Linked DNA regions of Homo sapiens: region 1 is linked to region 2. Evidence: promoter capture Hi-C in 16 types of primary human blood cells and fetal thymus (Javierre and others, 2016). All regions are on one chromosome and are shown on one strand. Each heading gives the region's core, a stretch centred on a gene start or on the middle of the fragment in contact. The rest is flanking DNA. Distances are from core to core; before and after follow the strand shown.

Region 1 (6,726 bases), core at 3,910-6,409, 110 kb after region 2:
GGTAAAGTAGTTAAGCATTTCTAAAAACAACATTCTTCAATATTTACCTATTTAAAAATAAATTTTTCAGTGTTCCTGCTACCCAGCTATCTAGCTTATCATATAAACAAGGGAAAAATGAGAAGCACTTATAAAACAATGCATGTTTACTTGAAAGAAAAATAAAGCTTTTTACAGTCACTGTAGTAAAAAATAAAATAGAGTTTTAGTGTTAGATATCAGTAACAGTATCAAATAACTTATTTTATGTCTATATATTAAAATTTGCAATACAAACTACAGTCAATTTTTGATAAATACATTAATAGAAGATAAAAATTGACTAGAAAATACTAAAAAATTCCTATTTTGATTATTTAAAATTCTAGCATATGAGTTTAAGATGGTAGATTTTCTTTGCAGTTCTAGTCTTCTGGTTTTATCATGGTTAAATGACAACAGATACCACCTGAATCTCAAAGCAGAGCACTTACTGCCCCATTCCCACCAAATCCCAGAGCTCCTGAAAACGAGTTTATAGATTCAATTTTTTTTTTTTTTTTTTTTTGAGATAGAGTCTTCCTCTATCACCCAGACTGGAATGCAATGGTGTGATCACGGGTCACTGCAACCTCAACCTCCTGGACTCAAGCTATCCTCTCACCACCCCCTCAGCCTCCCAAGCAGCTGGGACTACAAGTGCGCACCACCATACCCAGCTAATTTTTAAGTTTTTTTAGATGGGGGTTTCACTATATTGCCCTGGCTGGTCTTGAACTCCTGAGCTCAAGCAATCCTCCTGCCTCGGCCTCCAAAAGTGCTGGGATTATAGGCGTGAGCCAATGTGCTAAGCCCTATAGTTTACCTTTTAAAGAAATGACTGAATAAGTTTTGTATATAAAGTCTACAATTACCTAATGGCCACAAAACCACTTAAACATAAATACAAAGGGGTTACCAAGCACAGAAAAGTGAGATCACTAAAGAAAGCATAACAGAGTCAAAGATCCTTATTTGAATCAAAAGATACCAAACTCAACTTAAGACTAATAGGATGCAAAGTTACCAAGAAGCCAAAGTTCTCATAGTCTTTTATTCAAAGCACAAGCTCTACAAACTGCCATGGCTCTTTTGGAAGGTCAACTTTGAGAGGATATACCAAACTTTAAATGGGCATATTTCCAGTAGAAGTATGCACATAAGTACACAAGTATTTAAAGATGTATGTGTATAGATGCTCATGAAGCAAGATGAAATAACAAAAAATGAGAATCAAAGTGGTTCTTTGATAGATATCAGATTGAATAAATTAGAATAATGGTACGCAAACGGAGAAGACTGACAGAGCCAAATGTACTGCCAGGGAAGGATGTCCATGATATATAATACGAAATTTTCTAAAAAAGATGAAAACTGTAAGTATCGTAAGAAACAAGCAAGCATGTTGTAGAGCATCCTGTATTTGATACGTACTAATAAGTTTTTTTGCATATAAAAATGGTCTGGGAAGGCCGGGTGCGGTGGCTCACACCTGTAATCCCAGCACTTTGGGAGGCCGAGGCGGGTGGGTCATGAGGTCAGGGGTTCGAGACCAGCCTGTTCGAGGTCAGGGGTTCGAGACCACCACCAACATGGTGAAACCCCCTCTCTACTAAAAATACAAAAATTAGCTGGGCGTGGTGGCAGGCGCCTGTAATCCCAGCTACTCAGGAGGCTGAGGCAGGAGAATTGCTTGAACTCAGGACGCGGAGGTTGCAGTGAGCCAAGATCGTGCCACTGCACTCCAGCCTGGGCGACAGAGCGAGACTCTGCCTCACCAAAAAAAAAAAAAAAAAAAGGTCTGGGAAGATACACACCAAAATGTAAATAGTAGGTATATATGGTGATCATGAGAATGGGAGAAAAATCTTTCATATACTTTTAGGATACTTTTATCTCATTCCTACCAGGAATATATATTCACTTGGTGGGTTGAAAAATAAATTTAAAAGGGAAAGAAACATTCTTCCTATGCATTTTACTAATATGAAAGACTACTAGCTATATTAATAAATCACATTCAGATGGTGCCTTACAGTTCCAAAAACATCTTACACCCCTTATCTCATTAGAAATTCAAAATGCTATGATGTAATTTACTTAGGTAACATACGTAAGAATCCTCAATTAATACATGAGAGATCAAGACCTTAATTTATACTTTCATTTATTTACATCATGTTGACTTTCCATTCTGCACTGTTAACCTCAATGGCACTGTGCTTCTTCATGTGTACAATGGGGATGGCAAGTGGTTCAACAAACTTCCTAGTTAGATATGCAACTCTTCCACCTAGTTCCTCAAGTAGTAATCACGCTTTTTTGGGCCAGCACCATCCTTAACTTTTCCTTCATTTTCTAATTCATTCAGCATATGCATTCATATATGATTTACTAGAAAAGCAAATCGTTATTTGTTTCAAAAACAGCAAGGCCAATTCATCTGGTCATGTTAAAATCATAGGCCAACACCTCCATTTTTCTATGATTTAAAGTATACTTTATCTGTGGTCTAGAATATAAATGTGAATACAAAACCAAATCTGAGTTTATAAATCTAGGCTAAGATAAACTTACAAGAGCAGCTAAACTCTAAACATCAAAATGTATCTGAGGACTGAAGAGAAAAGCTGAAATTTTTTAAAACATGGCTTACCACTGAGACAGTTCTTGCAAAAGACCTCTTTAAAATGTGTACAGGTTCACTGGTTTGCTGTTTGCCTTTTGAAGCACTGCCATCACTGGTTGGAAGTCTAAAGGCAGTAGACACATATAAAATTATGTTAGAAAGTCCAATGTCATTTTTTCTTTTTAAAGTATATTATACATTTTTGAATGGGAAAATAAATTATATATTTAAATTTTTTTGCCAGGTAATGCCAATACAGGGCTTTTTTGAAACATTTTTCCAAGCTAAACAAAGTTTTTAGCATATGGGCACTTCCTTTAAATCCTACCTTCGCAAGACCGAGTAGTAGAGGCTTTTTCCTCTTCTTAGAGAACATATATAATGTATATAACATATAACTTATATTCTCTAGTAATGCTACTATTAATGCTGTTATTTAAAAGTTATTCAACCAGTGAGTACCTGGGAGTAGTCCAATGCAACACGTTATGTTTGTAGAGCTACATATTACAAACAGTAACTATAACAGATTGCACGGTGCATAAAAACCAAACAAACGAAAAAACCTTTTGGGGAAAAATAATGTTTGTAACCACAAAGTGATTACCAGAAAGAAAGATAGGGAGATAGAATCACAGTTCTAGACCATTTCCTTTGATTTTTTACTGCTTAACGAATGACAACATTTTTCAGTAACGGTTTATATCCATTTGAATTCTTTATTCTAAAAGTATTGCAGTAGTCTAGAAATAAATAAGGTAAACACAGGCATATGCCTTTATACATGCTTAAATTATTGTAAGTTAAAATTTTTCAATAATGTTAAAAATATAGTAAATATTATATGAGCAAGTTATTATTTGGTATTTTAGCTAAAGGTGAAAATTTACCAACAGTAGGGAATTTTCCAACTCATTTTATCAGTCTTATGAGACTACAATATATCAACCAGGCCTGCATCTATAGTCCTCCCCATCTTCCCTGCAATCTCACTTCTCCAAGACAAATTTTATTCTTTTACAACATTTGAAATTAGTAAGAAAATCAATGGATAGATTTTTTTTAAAGTCAGTAAAATATTGTTATTGGTATAATACAGATAATCTGAGTAATCAGGCAAAGTTTAAAGTTAAGCCTGTATGGAAAATGTTTAAAAATATACAAAATATTAACTGTTTTTGTTAAATATATTTATAGTTCTACCAGCATATTATAATTTGCTGAATGCTTCAAATAATTTCTCCCTATTATGCCACGTTTTGTAATGATTCTACTTCATTATAGCAAAATAATAAACCATACTAATTCAGTATAAATATGCTAAATACCTGTATAATAACTGAGGTATCTGACCCGCATTAACATCTGTACCATTATTTGATTTCTTTGAACTCTTGAACTGGAAAACAACCCTAAGAAGAGAAAACAATGATACCAAAAACAACATGATCATTACAGGAAATAAGAAATTTAAGAAACATGTTTTCAAATCTTATGTCAATGAAAATGATTCACTCTTTTACATAAAGAAAAGCAAAAAGGTATTTTCTAGATTTTCATTCTAGCTCTGAATGGGTTAGTCAGTAAAATGAAAGAACTGAACGTGATTAGGACTCCTAAATGAGTAGCTGTCCTGTCCCTCCTAGCTCTCCAACTCAGCTTTAACCACAGCAGTAAACTTCTAAAATTTCTACTTACAACTAAGTAGTATAATATCTGCTTGACTAGCTGCATGATAAGCTTTAGCCTCAGTGTGCCATGACATTCCAAGTCTGAATGAACTGTCTATGAAAATCATACAGTCCAGGGTCAAAGTAGTCACTTAGTTCTAAAGACATTCTTAAGTTGATGCACATAACAACAGATGTGATTTTTCTACAGTAGTCTCCTTGAATATTCAGCAACAGGAAATTCACCTCACAAATAAGTCTATTTCTTTTTTTGGTCAGCTTTGTTATGAATTGACCTGCACTGGAATATATACTGTTATATAACTTCAACTGATTTCAAATAGTTTATGCTCAGGAGTAATCAAGAATAAACTGAATTTATCTTACAAATGATAGTCCTTTAGAATACATAAATCATAGTAATAGAATATTGAAATGTTGGATTTAGAGTCAACAGGTTACAGGTCTGACCTTGGTTTTAACCACATGACTCTCAGGAAATAGCAAATAATTTCACCTTTTTATTTCTCTAGTCCCTGGAGTATAAAATGGGGCTAATAACTGCTTCACAAAGCTATTGAGGGCATCAAATCAGATAAAATATAAGAATATGAACTGAAAAGTACTCTATACGTGAAAGTTATTTTAAAACAGCAAAATTTTCCCTATATTTTATTAAAATAACACACATTGCTGAAGCTTTGAAATTTTAAACTGTTTTCTCATGCACTATCAAATTTAATATCACATATCTACTTCTTTTTTATGGTTCCAAACTCCTCATTTTCCTTGTCACCTTCCTCTATATAATTTCTAATTTGGTAATCAAGCTCGTAAACAATGTAATACCCAGAAATATATACAAATACCATCTGACAGGAGCAAAGTACAGTGGTCTTATTATCTCCTTGTTCTGTCTAGACCTCAATTTGGCATGAGGTTACATGAATTTAATTTTTAGCAGTTATATTATGCTCTAGTCTTCCTAAGCTTTTGAATCCTGCTGAAAGTACTCTGAATTTTCAAAACAATATTCCTCTAACAAAAATAAGTATTGCTTAAGTAACACTTGGGCATTTACTTACCCATCATCTGTGGTAATAGATGCCTGTCCATGAGATCCACAGTCACTGCTGGGTCCTGACACTCGGGCCCATGCCACATACCACCACCCAGCTTGCAGGAGAACAGGCTCATCAAACATCATTGCATATTTTTCTCTGAGAAAAAATTAGTGAGTCAAAAACAATATTTTCTTACTTCTCTGTCACATATATTTATTTTTTCAAAATCCCTTGTGAACAAAAACATGAAACTAACTGTATTATAAAATTCTTATCAAACAACATTAAAAACACTCTAAGAAGTCTGGACAAGAATGCAAGCAAATATAGTTATTTATGTTATGGTGATAGAATTACATTTCTTCCTCCTCTTCTTGAATTCTACAATATCCTTAAATGTTATAAAACTTTCATATTAAAATTAGAATGTTTTAAACTGATATTAAAAAACATTCAAATTTTGCTGGAAAATAAAAATCTGAACTTTAGTTTTAAAGCTCATTCATTCAGCTAAATAGTTTTGAAAGGCAGCATATTAAGAAAATGGCCCTGGAGTCAGGCAGCCTGGGTTCAAGGCCCAGCTCTGTGACCTGCTAGCAGGGCAACGCAGGGCAAGTTACTCTATCCTCTCAGTACCTTAGCTTCTTCACCTGAAAACTGTGGTGAAAATAATATCCTGCTCATAGAGTTGTCCTTTAGAATGAATTAAGTCAGATAGGTGTTTGGAGTCTGTCACATAATATCTATACAAACATTATTAATTTAGAAGAAGAAAAAAGACAATAAATAAGGGCATCTTCTAAAGGATATAAACAAGTTACAAAGTACTAGGTAACAGAGTGGAAGGAATGTTTATTGGTTGTAGCTGGAATTGAAAGAAGAATAAAGGGCATTTAAAGAAGCAGGAGAATGTCATGAAAAAATCTGTAGAGGTATGGAAGTACAAAAGAGGTCAGGAAATGACAAGGTGTTCATTATTAATTTCATTAATGCATTAAGACAGCTGTAGAAGAGTAGTGGTAGAAAGTCAAAAAAGATGCTGGATGTTATGGAAATCCTTCAATGCTCCCAATGCCTTAGGAGTCTGGGCTTTGTATATAAGCTAATGAAGAAATCCTAGACGATTCTCTATAAATGAAACTGTGCTTTATATTTTCGACTCAAACTCATATGGTCAAAAACAAATGGCAGCCAGGCACAGTGGCTCATTCCTGTAATCCCAGCACTTTCAGAGGCCAAGGCAGGAGGATCACTTGAGGTCAGGAGTTCAAGGCCAGCCTGGTCAGCATGGTAAAACCCCATCTCTACTAAAAATACAAACATTAGCCGGGCCTGGTGGCATGCG
Region 2 (6,029 bases), core at 3,251-5,750:
TATTTCACTGAAAAAAAGAATAAAAAAGGGAAATAAATATCTTTAGAATACAAATAAATACATTGTATACTTTTTCTTCTCCTTCAGGTGATGACAATAGTGCTTTTTCCTCTTGTTCTGGTGTAGGTTCAGCATCTCCAGAGATGAGCTTTCCAAATACCTGATGAAGATATGCATGTGAGAAGGAATTAATGACAGGCATTAACACTATATTGGCCAGAGGACTCATTAGCTGATTCCGCAGGTTTTATAATATGCTACTCTTGCTAATATACACCACTATTTTTCTTAATTACAAATGCAACATGGAACTCAGGTGTTTAGGGCTATGAAAAGAAAAAATGGGCAACATTTATAGCCAGAAATTTCTGTAATAAGTTTCACAAAATATTTTGTTACACTCTTAAAATATATTACATCAATTATCCTGTGCTAGAATATGTTGTAAGGACACTCACTTGAGACGTAATCAGTCTGAATACTCGCAGAGTCTCAGCTTCACAGTTCCTCTGCTGGGCCACACTGGCTGAAATCTGGCCAGCTATTTTTGTGCTTTCACCATCTTTCCAGCCCAGGACTTTGACTTGTCGAACTCTCAGTGTATTTTCTGGGCCTTTTAATTCAATTTTTATGATGTGATTATCCCCTCCTGGAAGTTCACTTGTTACCCAGCCAATGTGCCTGGAATCCAGATCAACCTGGTTGAGTAGAAAAGAGGCAGGAACCTGATTCAGCTGGATCACTTTTATCACTGTGCTGGACTTAGCATTGATACCAGCAAGCTCAAATAACAAAGAATTGCACAGAGTAAAGGTTATGAGGTTATTTCACACTGATTTTCTTATTTCAACCAGGTGAAGATAAGTAATATTATTTATAGTAGCTATTACACAGATGAAGAAACTAAGGTTAATACAGGTTAAGGGATTTTCAGTAAATGGTGGAATTGAGAATTAAAATCCAGGCCTGACTACGATATGGCTTCCGAGCAAAATTATATGAGTGAAATAATTACAAATAATTTATATGACTGTACTTTATCTATATCATCTGTAAGTGGAAACCTCACAAGATCAGAAAAGGGTTCTTTTTTTGTGCATCCTCACATTAAAGTACCATTTAAAGATAAGGGACTTTAAAGTGCAGTTACTTAATATGTTTTACTTTTGAACAAAAATTACATAATATGTAACTTCACACTTGTGATTCCTTATTTCACTAATTTTCATTGAGAATATGACTTTTTTTTTCAAGGATTAAATGTTAATATACTGTGAAATAGTTCTTGACACTATTCCCTTCATAAAATAAAAACTGTTCTTATGGCATTTAATAACCAAGAAATGACCTGGCGATTTCTATGTGATTTAAATAGACATTAAGTTGATATTATTTTAATTAATAATGTCAATTTTCAAAAAGGGGTATTAAGTATAAACAAACACAATCTCATTGAATAGGATTATTTTCCCAAATTCTTCAACAATTTAAACAAAATTTATTATATGTTTAGTCCAAAATCTTAATTGATTCCTTCAATGTGATTTGAAAACAAGCAAGCAAGCAAGCGATTGGCCAACTTTTTGTGAGATAAAGTAGCCAGTGAGGAACAGATTTGACAAAGTTTCATGAATACAAGTAAGGGAGCTTGAGCACAGTCTCAGACACATGCCTAGATAAAACTTAACTTGTTTCTAAAGTTGGTTTAAACTGACTTGCAACCTGGATATAGCTGCAGTGTTATAAGTGTTATAACAGACAGATTTTTCAGGCCAGAGGACAATAACCTGTATTAACTCAAAGTATAGGTGAAGTAAGGTTTTAAGTGTGAATGGGATCTGTGATAAATTTTAAGATACCCTGAGTCTTTGTTGGGGAGTAGGGTAGGGAGACTGTAGGTACAATATAATTGCTCATGACTGGGGAACATTTAGGAAAACAGGTGAGATGTCCAGCACAGGGATGGTGGTTACTATTCCTATGTTTTGGACCACTTGTCAATTTAGTGTTCTGTAAATAGATAATTCCCTATAATACTTTGGTTGTGTGCCAAGGGTGGAATTCAATAGTGAAGGCTGAGAAGAAGAAATTTCTCTCTAGGTAGCGAAACATTTAATGACAAAATTTCAATTACCTGCTTTATTCTGCACAAATCTTCTACTGCTTTGCCAGTTAAGAAGGTCATTGAGGTAACTTTATTCTGAAATAGACAATTCACAATAGTTAATATGCTATATTCCTGCTTCAGAACTTACAATGGTTTCTCATGACCTACTAATACCACATCAACTCTTCTGCCTGTCTCTTATGGTCCTTCCTGATTGACCCCACCCCATCCCTCCAACTAACCACGGTTCCTATAACTTTAGTCTCATTCTCACAAACTCCATCTTAAATTGCACATTTCAGCCTCTCTCCAGGTGCTCTCTCACAGCTTGACATTCCCTCTCCTTATTCAAAGTCTAAATATTCAGATTCCTTCCTCATGAAGCCTTTCAACAAATCTGCTTGTCACTTATGTCAGACTCTTGTTGCTATATTTTCATTACTTTTGGAAGTATAAAGAGGGAAGGTAACTGAACTAACAAATACTTATGAGTGTCACAATGTACCCAGACTTCCTTACAGATTTGAAGTAGGATATATGAGAGGAGGTTCTATCCCCCAAGATACTTGCCAAACTAGGGAAGGCAACATTAATACACAAAATAAATGTCAAACAGTACAAGTTCAATACATGTTCAAACTAGTGTCAAATATCTTAAGGCTGAATAAGTTTTACGCAAAGCACATCAAGAAATAGATTAACATTAATTCCTTGGAGAGCTGCATAATATGAGTGCTGTAGGCTGATACAACTCAAATCAACAAATGCTGTGTACAAGGCTCTGTGGTAGGCAGGTTGAGGAACATGGAGGTACATAACTCAAGGAAAACATACATACAGGTTGAGTATCCTTTATTAGAAATATTTGGGACTAGAAGTGTTTTGGATTAGGGATTTTTTAGGATTTTGAAATACTCTATTTGCATTATCCTTACTGGCTGGGCACCCCAAATCTGAATATCTAAAACCAGAAATGCTCCAATATGCATTTCCTTTAAGTGTCATATCTGTGTTCAAAAAGTTTCAGATTCTGTAGCATTTTGGATTTTCAGATTTGGAATGCTCAACCTATAACATAGAGGAAGCCTGTTAAAAGGAAAGTAGATGTCAGCTTACATGTTGGGAATTTTGAAAATGAATACTGTTATGATTATTTCCTCTTAGAAAAGACAGAAGTGTTAAATTGATTGCAATCATTGTTCTGAGGGAGAGTATGTCCTTGCTTAAAATGTACCATGAGCCAAAGATAGCTTTGCACTGAACAGTGAGTTCTAGCTACAAAAATGTTTTGCTTTGTTACACTTGACTTTCCAGTAAGATAAAGTAGTTACACCAGTGGAAATTCTTAGGTCTGAGGAGGAAATAGCTCATATTATATTAGCTAAGCCTCTTTTACTTACTCAATACCAGGGAGGAATAGAACCTGCACTGATGTACAGGAGTTGGAGGTTGCTCTGATTGCAGACTGGCCTGCATCCAGGTTATCTGAGACCCAATCCTACCACTGTGGCTCTTCCTGAGAAAGGAAATATGCAAATGGCACAGGAGAAGCCAGGCAATGGTTCAAGGAGAGCCATTAATACTGTATCTGCTAGCAAGCCACATCCATTCTGAGGAAAAAAATTCTAAATGAGGTAGAAGAAAGGCAGTCTGGCAGTTAGTGCTATTTCTTTCTTGGTTGTTAATACTCAAGCAAATAGGACTCTTTTTTCTTGTTTAGTGCCTTTTATAAAAGAATATTTAATTCAGTTGAAACACATGGATGAACTAGGCTGAAGAGAATATAAATTATGATTATTTGGGACAGTCTGAAACTTATTTTTTATTTCATGAGGACTGTGGCAAAGTAGACACTTGAAGATAGGCTGGGTGCAGTGGCTCATGTCTGTAATCCTAGCACTTTGGGAGGCTGAGGTGGGCAGATCACTTGAGGCCAGGGGTTTGAGACCGGCCTGGACAACATGGTGAAACCCTGTCTCTACTAAAAATACAAAAATTAGCCAAGCATGGTGGCGTGTGCTTGTAATCCCAGCTACTCAGGAGGTTGAAGCAGGAGAATCGTTTGAACCTGGAGGCGAAGGTTGCAGTGAGCCAAGATTGTGCCACTGCACTCCAGCCTGGGTGACAGAGGGAGACTCCATCTCAGAAAAAAAAAAAAAAGCTGATTACACTATAGGTCAAAGATTATTATTAAGTGCCACCAGAGTAATACAAAAAGAATCAGCAGAGGGAAAGAGTAATTTTTTAGAGGAGTTACTTAGAATTTCTCTGCTGAGTTTGAGAGACCCTGGAAGAATTGATCAGCAGAGTTTAAGGGGAGGACTTCCAGGTCACGGGAAAATCTTAACCAAGGGAATGGCAGCAGAAAATTGTAGAGCAGACTTTCATTTTGCTTAGCTGTAGCCATGGTATATTTGTAATCAGACCTCTTTTCAGAAATGGAATTCCACAGTGCTCCCAATCATATTAATTTGTTTTTAGACTTAAGATTTATTTGGGGATTATAGCAATGATGTTTGGTTGGTGAAATTCCAGGTGATAAAGCTTGTTGCTAAATTCAGAAATGAAAGTGCATGAATACTAAGATCTGAAAAGAGCTAAAGAGCCGTAAATCACGTTTGCTTTCTTACCCCAAGATCTCGGGAATTGTCCACGTGAACAGACACATAGCGGGCATTGATTCCTTTTACACAGTTGATGGTGATGTTCTTAGTTTTGTTTTTATCTTCATCTCCTGATTCCCAAAAGGTTTCTGTGGAGCCGTCTGTCAAACTGCCAATCATGGCAGGTCGGCTTGAAGTTTTTATGTCAACAATGCTGGTTAAGTCCTTTAAGCACATTACTATGCATAATTCCTATCAGAAACAAATATAAGTACTTATGATACTTAAAAGCAAATCTTTCGTGATGATAAAACAAACAGGTATAAGATAAAACATAATGGAAGACAGGATCAAATTGATTATGAATAACTTACAGTTTCTCCTTTGATGTATTATTAACTAACAGGACAACCAGGATAATAACTGAAATGACTGACCTGACTCATAGCTTCAAAGCCAGACTGTATACTGATGCTAAAACTCTCTTCACTATCGCCATCATCTGACTTTGACAAAATATTGTTAATGTGATGAAAGACGTTGCTCTGATGAAGGAACTGGTGATCAGATTGCTTGAATTTGAGACTCCAGCACCTAAAAAGGCGATATATAAGCAATATACGAAATAATTATTTTCCAGGAACATCTAAGGAACTCTTAGATGAGTACTCTGTAGCTAATATCTCAAGAAATTTTAATGTTCTAGTAACAGACATTTTAAAAATTCAGGGAAGAAAATCATTCCTATTGTTTTTGTTTTTGAGAAATAAAGGTAACTTCTTTGGAACAAGGTAAATTCTAAGGAAAGTTGACCCATTTTAAATATAAAAGAATTAGACAGATGAAGATCAAGGCTACAGAAGCAAAAAGGGTAATGAATCTATTGTGTAAACAAGTGGTACACCAACTGCAACAACCCCTCAAATTTATTACTCTTACAATGCCATACTAATTCATCAGGGTATAGTTTATCTTGTAGTTCAAAAATCTTGTGAGGAGGACAAAGAGAAATCTCTCTTCCACTGGTCTTATCATTAGTAACATGGGAAGCCCAAGCATTCCATCAATCTATTTCTTGTATACATTAATTAGGAGAATTTATTTATAAGTGTGAGTCCAGTATGTGAATCTAGTAACAAGGTTCACAGTGTAAAAGCAATGCTAAATTCTCAACACATTTCAAATTGAAATTGGAATCTGTTGAGCATCTGTGATGCTCCTTAAGGTGCTTTTAGGACTGGGTGCATACAACCAGGCTCTGTTTTCCCCAAGATTCTTTTCAAGTCAAAACTCTATTTTGGTTTTTGTTTTTGAGATTT

What was found. Contacts are between HindIII fragments. The CHiCAGO score rates a contact against its expected background, and 5 or more counts as called.
Region 1: a fragment that was not itself captured here is called in contact with the fragment with the promoter of MYCBP2-AS2 in region 2 in 3 of 17 cell types (total B cells, monocytes and megakaryocytes); the score reaches 6.4 in total B cells.

The regions. Positions count from the first base shown.
Region 1 is chr13:77,186,277-77,193,002 of GRCh38, forward strand. It overlaps MYCBP2 (MYC binding protein 2), which reads right to left. Exons shown (of 83, transcript NM_015057.5): 28 at 5,403-5,537; 29 at 3,976-4,059; 30 at 2,675-2,771. Among named protein-coding and RNA genes, the nearest start is that of MYCBP2-AS2, 110 kb to the left of the region's middle. The HindIII fragment of the contact is 291 bases long and covers 5,015-5,305 here.
Region 2 is chr13:77,076,690-77,082,718 of GRCh38, forward strand. It overlaps MYCBP2-AS2 (MYCBP2 antisense RNA 2), which reads right to left and starts at 4,501. Exons shown (of 2, transcript NR_170173.1): 1 at 4,225-4,501; 2 at 3,822-3,972. MYCBP2 (MYC binding protein 2) reads right to left here. Exons shown (of 83, transcript NM_015057.5): 64 at 5,148-5,304; 65 at 4,738-4,962; 66 at 2,135-2,200; 67 at 459-698; 68 at 62-160. MYCBP2-AS1 (MYCBP2 antisense RNA 1) reads left to right here. Exons shown (of 4, transcript NR_046716.1): 2 at 127-244. The HindIII fragment of the contact is 5,615 bases long and covers 1-4,649 here.